Regions from separate parts of the Homo sapiens genome. Here all the other regions are linked to region 2. The links are contacts of gene promoters, found by promoter capture Hi-C in human tissues and cell types (Jung and others, 2019). All regions are on one chromosome and are shown on one strand. The core of a region is centred on a gene start or on the middle of the fragment in contact, and the rest is flanking DNA. Distances in the headings are between cores, read along the strand shown. Region 1 has its middle 85 kb from the start of KCNG1. Region 2 holds the start of KCNG1 (potassium voltage-gated channel modifier subfamily G member 1). Region 3 has its middle 66 kb from the start of KCNG1.

Evidence for each region. The method cuts DNA at HindIII sites, captures the fragments that hold promoters and counts their contacts. A contact is called where the count stands out against the background at its distance.
Region 1: a contact is called between a fragment that was not itself captured here and the fragment with the promoter of KCNG1 in region 2, in 5 of the 25 tissues and cell types used here (H1 embryonic stem cells, IMR-90 fibroblasts, dorsolateral prefrontal cortex and 2 more).
Region 3: a contact is called between a fragment that was not itself captured here and the fragment with the promoter of KCNG1 in region 2, in 6 of the 25 tissues and cell types used here (IMR-90 fibroblasts, aorta, dorsolateral prefrontal cortex and 3 more).

The regions. Positions count from the first base shown.
Region 1 is chr20:51,106,273-51,110,026 of GRCh38, forward strand. No RefSeq gene overlaps it. Among named protein-coding and RNA genes, the nearest start is that of KCNG1, 85 kb to the left of the region's middle. The HindIII fragment of the contact is 3,896 bases long and covers 208-3,754 here.
Region 2 is chr20:51,021,076-51,024,756 of GRCh38, forward strand. KCNG1 (potassium voltage-gated channel modifier subfamily G member 1) reads right to left here and starts at 2,032. Exons shown (of 3, transcript NM_002237.4): 1 at 1,795-2,032. RefSeq lists an enhancer at 1-236 and a silencer at 1,961-2,130. The HindIII fragment of the contact is 10,697 bases long and covers 1-3,681 here.
Region 3 is chr20:51,086,852-51,090,606 of GRCh38, forward strand. No RefSeq gene overlaps it. Among named protein-coding and RNA genes, the nearest start is that of KCNG1, 66 kb to the left of the region's middle. RefSeq lists an enhancer at 242-821. The HindIII fragment of the contact is 3,469 bases long and covers 341-3,755 here.

The DNA of each region.
Region 1 (3,754 bases), core at 906-3,405, 85 kb after region 2:
ATAAATGAGGCCTGAGAGAGTTCCCTTTCCCCTTCTGCCATGTGAGGATGCAGCAAAAAGACGGCCAACCATGAACCAGGAAATGGGCCCTTACTGGCGTATTAGTCCATTTTCATGCTGCTGAAAAAGTCATACCTGAGACTGGGTAATTTATAAAGAAAAAGAGGTTTAATGGACTCACAGTTTCACATGGCTGGGGAGGCCTCACGATCATGGCAGAAGGTGAAAGGCACGTCTTACATGGCGGCAGACAAGACAGAATGAGGGCCAAGTGCAAGATATTTCCCTGTATAAAACCATCAGATCTCATGATACTTATTCACTACCACGAGAACAGTATGGGGGAAACCACCCCCATGATTTAATTACCTCCCACTGGGTCCCTCCTATAACACATGGGAATTATGGGAGCTACATTCAAGATGAGATTTGGGTGGGGACACAGCCAAACCATATCAACCAGACACCAAATCTATCTGGCACCTTGACCTTGGACTTTCCACTCTCCAGAGCTGTGAGGAATAAATTTCAGTTGTTTACAAGCCACCCCGTCAATGGTAGTTTGTTATAGTAGTCAGAACAGACTAAAGTGTCCTCCAAGGAGGTGACAACTGTTACAATCTTCTTGTGTCCTTCTCCGGAATGCAAATATAGTGAACATAAAAATCAGCTTCCTATAGATGCTGTTCTGCTCCTTGACTTTTTTGCTTGGAGGTTGTTCTATCGGTTTGCATAGGGCCGACTTACTCTTTTTAACTGCTGAAGAAATTTCACTAGAGAAATGTGCCATGATTTATTTAATTGACCCTCCATGAATAGACTTTTCCATTGTTCTTAATCTTTTTACACCAGGTCAGCAGTTCTCAACTGGAGCTGATTTTGCGCCCCGCCTGCCCCAGGAGATGTTTGGCAGTGCCTGGGGAGATTTTTGATTGTTATAGCTGGGAGGTGGGGTGCTACTCACTAGTGGGTGGAGGCCAGGGATGCTGCTGGACATCCTATGGTGCAGGGGACGGCCCCCACGAGAGACGATTTTCCCACCCCGGATGTCAGCAGGGCTGAGGCTGAGAAGCCTGCGCTAGGTGGTGTCTTCAGGCTGCAGGCTGCAGGTGAGAAGTCTGGAGGGACTGAGATGTCAAGTCCAAAGGCAGGGACAGGAGGAAATGCGCGTGCCATGAGAACACTGCGCTTTGCAGGAAGGAGGAGGGAAAGTGCTCAAGCTCGTGCCCCTCAGAGTCTAGAGAAGACAGGTCTGGAAGGGGCCACCACCCAGAGAGGGGAGGGGCTCCCCTTATTCCTTTTGTGCCCATTTATGCTCCTAGATTGTGCCTGGGAACTCCAGAATAGTGGGTAGGAGATGCAATTATCCTCAACAAACCAAACACAGTCATTAAACAGAATCTCAACGCTCTTAATTACTAGTATATTAGCATATTACGAATGAGGAAGCAGCGTTTAGTATATAACAGCAGAAGCTTTGGGAAGAAATGCCTATTTTTACCACTAATTAAGAGAATATTATAGAAGAGTTAGAGAATTAATTGTACTTCAGTATATCTTTATAAGGAAGATAATTGGGTAAAGATTGTTTCTTTCTTCCCACATCACAATATTTGCAGGCAGATGGTATTGTTCGTGCTGAGAAACTGTTGTGGTATCAACACAAACCATTTTCTCCTTCAAAAATATTTAATACATTAATTGGCCTCCTCTTTGCAGAATATTATTACGATTATTTACATCTATGCTGCACTTCACGGTTTTCAAACACATCCATGTGCATGAACCTATGGAATTCTCGGGGTGGTCAGGATACTATCATTCCCTTTTTACAGGGGATAAAACAGCTAGGAGAGACTTAGGTGACTTGCAAGAGGCCAGAAGCTTAAAACGGTTGCAATCAGGACCAGAACCCAGCCCCCAGCACTAAAATGTCTACTTCTGGACCATGGATGATTCTTCATTTTCTCTGTAACCTGCACGATCTGGTACCTCACTGTGGATGTGTGCAAAGTGTTTACCTGCTCTGTGTGTGTGTATGGAGGGGTTCCATATTGTGTGTGTGTGTGTGTGTGTGTGTCTGTGTGTGTGTGTATGGGGGGTTCCATACTGAAGTGAGAATAGCAGGACCTATGTGGTACAGGAGTCCTGGGTTCAAATCCCAGCTCTGGCACTTACTGTTGTGTGACTTTGGGCAAGTGAAATAATCTCTTTCAACTTCAGTTTCCTCATCCATGAAAGAAGGGTTGTGATTCTTATTTCCTGGGGTTGCTGTTAGGATGAAAAGAAATGATGTCCTCAGGTGCTCAGTACAGTGCCTGCCTGGTACGAGGTGGCTTATGGTTGTTATTGTTACTCCTGCCTGGATCTGCTCACTCATCAGACACTTCTGATTGTATCCAGGGGTTTCACATGTGCACACATATCAGCCCCAGCCACGTGTGGCTTCCGTGGCCACAGTTTCTGATGCCTCCCCTGAGACAAGCCTTTAAGTCCTGCTGCTCTGCCTGTGCTGGGGAGCAGGTCCTTTTGGTCACCCAGCCGCCAGCGCTTCCTAAGCTCGTGGTAACCGATCGGCACAGCAGCTAAGGAGGGGATGGTTCCTGACTTTTGCCATATGCTTTCGTGGCGGGCTACTGCAGTGGGCTGCTGGGACCCTGATGCGGCACAGTGCTTGGGGATTAGGCTTTATACACTATACCCACAGCTGCTCCTCCTCGGGGTGAGCACACATGGTCAAGGTCACCTGGTTAAGGTGGGGCTCAGGGTTTAGACACCAATGTATACTGAGAATCACGCCTTCCTTTGGGATCCCAGGCTCACACAGTGGCAGCATTAAGTCATCTCTCCTTGAGATAAACTCTCCCAGGAGCCTCTACTGGGTGATGGTGGTTCTGATCTGACTGGTATCACTTCCCCCCTTATTTTGGTAACTGAGCCTTAGTTTGACTTTGATGAGTTAGCAGTTCTCCGCTCTCAGACCCTGTGGTTCAAGAAGGTCTGACTCCAGACCCTTGGTGCTGACAGGGGATGTGTGACCCATCCCTGACATAGGAGAATGCATATGCATGCTCCTCTGGTCACAGAAAGTGGTTTAGGGATGAGCATGTGACCCAAGTCGGGCAACTCACAGCCAATCCCAGGACTTTTGCGGGCATTATTAAACGAGAGATGATCTTTCTGCTGTGGGTGCTCAGCTGGTAGGATGTACGCCTGGGACTACAGAGGCCATTTTGCTAGGACATGGGGGATGCCCTCTAAGAATGAAGCCAATGCAGAGGAAGACAGAGACCAGAGATGGTCAGAGACAAATTCCTGATTGCATCATGAGTACCTGGATCCATCCATGCCTGAAGACAGATTGAGGTTCCATCATTTGCAACCAAATGAGCCCCAAGGCTGACCTTGACACTGAAGCTCCTTTCAATCTCTTCTCCTCCCACCCACCAGAAGTGCTGGGATTTGCCTGAATCCTGTTAATGGGCTGACTGCAGGTTCTTTTACAGGCAGCCCTTAAGAAAACAGATACCTTCAAGAAGAGGTTGGAGAGAAAGGAGAAGAAAAAGCTCTCCCAATTTTCCATGCTAGATCTCCAGCCTGGCTGAGATGCTGCCTTGTATTTTATCAGGCTCCTTTCCCCATTTACTTTCCACTAGACGTTTTCAAGAGGAAATGACAGAGATTACTTTTTCATGAGGCTGCCTTTTGTAACCCAGCAGATGTTTAATTAAAATTTTTATTATCTCCTCAAGTT
Region 2 (3,681 bases), core at 782-3,281:
CCAAGGTTTGACAACCCAGGCTGTAGGCTGCGGGCCTGGGCTCTCAAGTCTCAGGAGAAGAACCTAGGTTGCCTCGTTTCCAGTGTGCTTGCAGTTCCCTGCAGGTTAGGAGTGTGTCCCAGGACAGACATCTTTCCCGTGGAACGGGCTGGCTTCGAGAATGACTGAGGAGGGTGATCCCCAGGGGCCAGCGCTTGCCTGTTTTTCAAACACACCTTCCCTCCTTCCCCTCCTATCAGGCGACTCTGCAGGGCTCCAAAAGCCGGGGGAGGCACAAATAGAGCTCAGGTCTGGCAGAGCCTGAAAAATCCCCCAAAGAAGGACAGCATGCCCTAGCCACAGTGCCGACCGCAAGGCCCCAATCAGCAGTGCCAAACTTTTCTTGGAGATGTGCTGCCGGTGAGGCTCTTCATAGGGACTCTGCCATCATGGGTATGGGGGTATCAAACACACACTAATGAATAAACCTCTGCTCAGATTCATAGGGCAGGAACTTCCCCCACCCCACAATGAATCAGACCAGTTCCTGCTCCCTCCTCTTACTTCCCCCTGTACTTATCTCAGGGAGTCAGCAAAGGGGGTGGGGGCGTCTGTGTCTGTCTCCCTCTTCTATGTGTCTGTCATTTACCTGGGTAACTTTGGTGCCTGGCACCCTTTAAGTGCTTAATAACAGCGAGTGCTTAAGAAAATGCCTGCTGAATGGACAACCTAACTCATAAACCCCATTGGTGGGAACCTGCATTCCTCAGTAATGTCGGATCAGTGTTTCTCAACTCCTCCCCACCCTACCCCATCACCCGCCCCTAAGGAGCTTTGAAAAGATCTTTTCTTCCTATTCTAGAACCAATTCCAGCTTCCACACCTCCCACCTTGAGAAGGAATGCATTAGATGAACCAAGACTTCTGCCTATATACATGGGCTGCTACAGTTGGCCACCCCGGCAGTCTGCGGCCTCCCAAGCGGGGGCCTGGGTCTTAATCCTTACTTCTCTCTAAGCTGCATGAAGGGTGCCCCCATTCCATCCCTCTTCACTTCTCCCCAGCATAGCGCCTCCATAAATGTTTGTGAACTGGATGAATGACTGTTGAGCGCTTGGTATGATGAGCTGCTTACAATAGGTGCTCAACCAATCTTTGTCCAATCTATGAATGAATGAATGAACTTCACCCTTTTCCTTCCATACCTCCGGGCTGAGCCTCTCTCCCACATGGAAACCCTAAGGCTGAGACCACCACCTTCCTACCAGTTCCTGGGGGTGCCCAGTGAACTGTCTCAGTATCCCCAGTGCCTAGCACACAGTAGGCGCTCAATAAACGCTTGCTGTGTTCATAATGAATGACTCAATCAGGCCCACGGTGGGGGTGAAGGGGGGCTCCATACTGTGCCTAAGGATACAGTGAATGAGCAAGTGACACACACTCCCCCACCCCAATCCCTAACTCTCCTTCCTCCCAGGATCGGGGGAGAAACCTCGGCCCACAGCCGGGATGCGCCCCCGCCGGGGTCACCGCGGCGGCGAACGTCCCGGACTTCGCATCCCGGTGACCCCTTGGGATGAACCGAAGCCGGACCCGCACCTTGGCCGTAACAAGCGCGCTCCACGCCGCCACGCACCAGCGGTGACTCCCGAGTCCTCTGTCGCCCTGGCCTCCCCGCAGGCGGGTTTCGAGGCCCCCGCAGGGAGTTCAGGGCCACGGCCACGTGCAGCCGCCCCCGAGCCCGAGTTTGCAGGCTCGGGGTCCGGTTCGCGCTTCGGTGGCGCCCGGCGAGGCTGCAGCGCGCAAAGTTCCCACCTCAAGTTCCCGTCGCGGCGTCCCCGCCTCGGAGTTGGCCCGGCCGCGGCTTCCGTTCCCCCCGGCTGCCCACGGGTCCGGGGCGAGGACGCGAGAGGGGCCTGGAAGTCGCCCGGGGAGCCCGCTCTGCCTCCCGGAGCCGCCGCCAAACTTCGGTCCCGGGGCCCGGCTCAGCTCCCGCCCTCGGAGCCACGGCCGCCCCGTCTCTGCCTCCCGGTCCCCGCCGGGCTCCGAGTGCGCCGGGAGCGCGGCGCAGCAGCCGCCGAGGGAGGGAGCGAGGCAGGAGGCGGGACGGAGGGAGGGGACTGAGCGCGGGGCGGGGAGAAGGGGCGGGCAGCCGAAAGCGCAGCGCCTGGCCTCGCCTCGCTTCGGGACAGTGGCAGCGGCGCCACCGTCACGGGGCGTCCAGGCGCCCAATCGGGACCCCGCACCTTGGATCCGGGGGCCCTGGCGCGCCTGCTGGATTGCGCTCCTCGCGGCCAGTTCCTGAGCCCGCGTCCGGGACTGCTCGCGCTACGCCCTCCCTCCCGTTGCCTTCTTCCCCGTCTGCTCTCCCAGGAGCGACCACCCTGCGGCCCCTTCGCCTGCACGCGACAGCCTTCAAGGTCCCCGCGCTCCGCTGCCCTGGAGCTTCACGCACCAGGCGGCGCGGCAGCCTCCTAGGGTCGCGCGCCCTGTCAGCTTTCCCCGCGGTGCAAGTGCTCCGGTGGTCCCGGGTCCGCGCCCCTAGCAGCACCGCCCCAGGGTCTACATGTGCTAGATATTAAAACCCCACTCTCCGCTGCCCCGGGGCCGCGCTCCACGCGCTTACACATCCTGGGAACCACATGCGCCATGTCTCCTGCCTTTCCCTGGAAGTCCTGGAAGTCCAAGTGCACTGCTGCCTCTGGGTCCCTCGCCCCCCTACCCCGGGCAAATACTGCATCCTTGAGGCCCTCCACGCGCTGCTGCCCTGGAGCCGAACGCTCCAAGCAAGCTTCCACATCCTGGGGGCCATATATCGCGCGCCTTTTCTCGACCTCCTAGACCAATGTTGCCCTTGGGCCCTTCCTGCCACCGCCACCCAGGGACTGCCAGCATCTTGCTGTGCCAAATTCCTAGGGCCAGTACGTACCGTGCCAGGTGTTTTCCCTTCCAGTCCCGCGGGGCCGAGGCCCCAGAGCCCTCCCGGGCTAGCAGAGCCGCACTTCGTCGTCCACTCCCCTGGCCGGTGCAGGGCACTTGGACCAGGTCCTGGGGTCTTGCTCCCAGTGTGGCCGCCTAGCCTCGGAGTTGGTAGGATGCTGCACAGATGCTGGAGGTTGGGTTGGAGGGATCTATTGGGTTGGAGGAATCTACTGAGTTGGAGGGACCTATTGGTTTGGAGGGATCTGTGCTGCTGGCAGGGCTGGCCTCTTAGGGTGGCTTGCCTTGCACTCCGTTCCTCTTCTCCTTTCTGTCTCTTGCACTCCGTTCCTCTTCTCCTTTCTGTCTCTTGCACTCCGTTCCTCTTTTCCTTTCTGTCTCTACTGCCTTTGCCTATCATCAGAGAACCAAGAAAGGACATGAAGAAACCCTGCTGCCGACCAGCCTGAGGCCTTCTGCTTGAGTGGGGCTCGGGTTGGGGAGTCGTGGGTGCTCATTAAGTGGGTTAGGGTTAACCCTAAGAAATGAGCGCAGGGCACACTAGCCTGCGCGGCAGTCCCAGCCGGGTGGAGCATAGGAGTTCCAGGTTATAGTGCACTATGATGGCACCACTGCAATCCAGCCTGCGTGACTGAGCGAGATCCAGCCTCTAAAACAACAAGAATAAAAACACTGGCTTACTGGTGAGGTGGAGGCCTGGACAGACAAGGATCTGCCTAAGGACCTGTTTCCAAGAGCTCACCTTCTACTGGGGGCTTGGCA
Region 3 (3,755 bases), core at 825-3,324, 66 kb after region 2:
TAGTAGAGACGGGGTTTCACCATGTTGGCCAGGATGGTCTGGATCTCCTGACCTTGTGATCTGCCTGCCTCTGCCTCCCAAAGTGCTGGGATTACAGGCATGAGCCACCGTGCCCAGTCCATATATTTTTTTCTTGAAAAAAATATTTCGTGAGACGATTAAGGTGCGAATTATTTCAGGGAAGGTGTTGGTGAGTGGTCAGTAATTTAAATTAACAGGATTTCCGGGGCTTATTTAAGAGCCTAAAATAGAATTGCTAAAATTCAGAGAGCGTTTTACTTTAACTTCTGCTATAGGGACTCTTTTGCCTTAAAAATGCTTTGTTTTCATCGCCATTAGCTTGCAAAGATATTTTAAAAGTTTAAAATATCCTTAGGATTTTTTTCCTTGTTAATAAACTGGGTTAATGATTTCCATGGAGATTACTTCCAACGAGGCTCTTGTATTTTAGGCAAGCAGCTATCCTGTTGGGATCAGAAAGGAATCATTTGAAACCTTTAATCTCCTAGCAAGACTAAGTGCTTCTGGTGAATGAACCCCTGGGTCTCAGTGGGACATTTGAGAGGCCCTTTAAGGTACAAAGCGCTGTGTTTCAGAAGACATAATCTTTCAAGTAGGACTCACAAGTGAGGGACTTTGACCAGCCTGGTTGAGGGAAGTGTGTGCATGCCTGTGTGTGTGTGTGTGCCTTGCACGCATTGGGGGTTGGGAAATTTGTGTTCTGTTAGTGGAGGGTGTCCTTTATAACACTGAGAATGAGGGTGATGTTCTGGTTTAAAACCCCTGTAACTTACATGAACTTCCACGAGCAGAGACGGGTGTTGTTGAGCAGAGTTTCCTGCACAAAATGTACAGTTGCATCACCTGGCATCTTGTCAAAGCACAGGTTCTGATGCAGGAGGTTAAGGATGGGGCCTGGGATTTGGTGTTTGTGACAAACTCCCAGATAATTCCATCCCCATGCTGCTGGTCCCTGGACCACACGTGGAGTAGAGAGAGTACAGACCACTTCGTTTCACCTCCACTGGGAAGAGACCGAAAATCACATTTTGGATCCTGCCAGTCCTTAGCAGCGCTGATTCTGGTGTATCTTGGGACTTTATGTCATCCCCGAAAAAGGGATCCCCTAAGAAGGGTAAAGCCCGAACACCTTTTAAGTCATCAGTTCTAGACTAGCTGATGTCCTCTAATCCTGGCAAGGAATCTGGCTGCAGGTAAATGGTGGTTGCAGGGGAGACAGATCAGCAATGATTCAGGCAAAACTTTTCTTCTAAAGCAGAAATGATAAATGAAGCTTATTGTTTCTTCAGAATTTCTTTGTGTCATTCTCAGCTACGGGGACTATTAAAGTATATTTCCCAAGGGAGTGGTGGTATTCGGTGATGTCCTTGTTCATTTAGCTGAAGGCAGATTTCCCTGTTTCCCTCAATGGGAGATGATCTTGTACCTGAGTCTTTAGTGAAGAAGCAGCTACACTGAAGCCTTTCATCAGAATTCTCAATGAGGCAGCAGACTCAGAGAGAAGAAAGAAGCAGGCCCTTCTGAGCTTTTTGGAGAATTGCAAAGCAGGCAGCCTGTATCAGGTAGCTACTGACATATAACAAATAACCCCAAAACGTAATGGCTTCAAACAAATAACCTTTTTAAGAATATTTTTTATTATGGATTCAGGGGGTACCTGTGCAAGTTTATTACATGGATATATTGTGTAATGGTGAAGTTTGGGCTTCTAGTGGACGCATCACCCAAACAGTGAACGTTCTACCCAATAAGTGGTTTTTCAACCTCACTCTCATCTCACCCTTCCCCCTTTTGGAGTCCCCAGTGCCTATTATTTCCATCTTGATGTCCTTTCAAGCAATAATTTTTAAACCATTATACTATCCATATGTATCCCATAACATCATGTTGTAAACCTCAAATATACACAATAACATTTATTTTTAAAACATAAATCATTTTTTAAAATGAAAAAGCCCCAATAACCTTTTATTATCATGATTATTTCTCATGAGTTGATGTGTAGGCTGGGCAGTTGTGCTGATCCCAGTTGGTCCCATTGATTTGTCCATGGTCAGCTGGTGGTTCCGCTGGGGGCTGGTGGTCTAGCATGGTCTTTGCTGGGACCACTTGGCTCTTCCACCTACCACCACATTCGTCACAGTCTGACACGTTCCCATGGCGGTGGCAGTGGTCCCTGAGAGAGCTATAGTATCCCAATCATGCAGGAGGACAAGTGGGAATACCCTCAGGCTTTTCAAGCTCTGCTGGCATCAGATGGGCTAACATACCCCAGTGGCCAAAGCAAGTCATATGCCTGAACCCAGAGTCAGGGAGTGTGGGACCAGAAAGCTGAAGCAAAGAGCATGAATGCAGGGAAGCCATTAGTGAAATTCAGGAATGAACAAGCCCCTCTCTTAATGCTTGAGACTGAGTTTGTAAATCTCTGAGTATAGACAAAACTTTTCATTCATTCACTTATTCATTCGTTCATTCATGAAACATTTATTATTTCTCTCTTATGCAAAGCACTGGGCTCAGTCAGACTTGACTTCGGAGTTTTACTTGCCTTGAGATCTACACCCACTTAACTTCCACCTCCAGATCGTCTCCATGTGGAAACTGCAGAAAGCTTTTGCTGACTCCTCAGCGGGGCCCGTGGGACCTGTGGAATCATTCTGTGGAATGAGGCAGAGGGTCCCCTCCCCAACGCCCACAGGGCAGCTACTGCCTGTTGCCATGGAGATGCTGGATAGCTTTAAACAGACCCTACCTGCTACCCACTTCTGGGGCGGCTGCCTTGCAAGATGAAAGGGCCTGGCTAGAACTCAGAAGGTCTGCTGTCCTCTTAGGCCCTTGGGTTGATCGCCTCATGGAGGCTGTTTTGATCATCATCATCAATGCAAATAATTAAAATTTTTAAAAACAATTTTTGTGGGTATATAGTAGGTATATGTATTTATGGGATATATGAGATGTTTTGATACAGGCATGAAATCTGTCATAATCACAACATGGAAAATGGGGTATCCATCCCCTCAAGCACTTATCCTTTGTGTTACAAATAATCCAGTTATACTGTTTTAAAATAAAACAGTATGTACAATTAATTATTGTGCATTTTAAATTAAATGTACAATTTAATTGTACATTTAAAAATAACTCAATTATTTAAAATTATTTAAAGTAATTATTTAAATAAAATAAATAAATAAATAATTGAGTTATCTTAAAATGCACAATTATTGACTATAGTCACCCTGTCGTGCTATCAAATACTAGGTCTTGTTCTATTTTTTTGTGCCCATCAACCATCCCCACCTCCCCAATTTCCCACTGCCTTTCCCAGCCTCTGGTAACCATCCCTGTACTCTCTATCTTCTTGAGTTCAATTGTTTAGATTTTTAGATCCCACAAATAAGTGAGGATGCAAATAATCTTTCCCTCACAGTTTCGTTGGTTTGGTTTAGGTGGATTTAGAAGCATATTGTAAACCCTAAAGAGCCATGAGCATGTCAGGGTTTATTACAAGTAGGAAGGAGAAGCCAAAAGTTCTCTCCCAGCGTGGTCATCGATGATGTGCTGGGAAACTGGATGTGGGAAGGGCCGGGGAAGAGCCCAGGATTAGAGTGATTGCTGATTTCCTTGGTGTAAATACATCATGGCTGATTTCTATCAAGGTTGCTACCAATGATTTAACAACCTACTTGTAGAATTCTCCTACAAACAGCATCATGCTTGACCTTACAGCACCC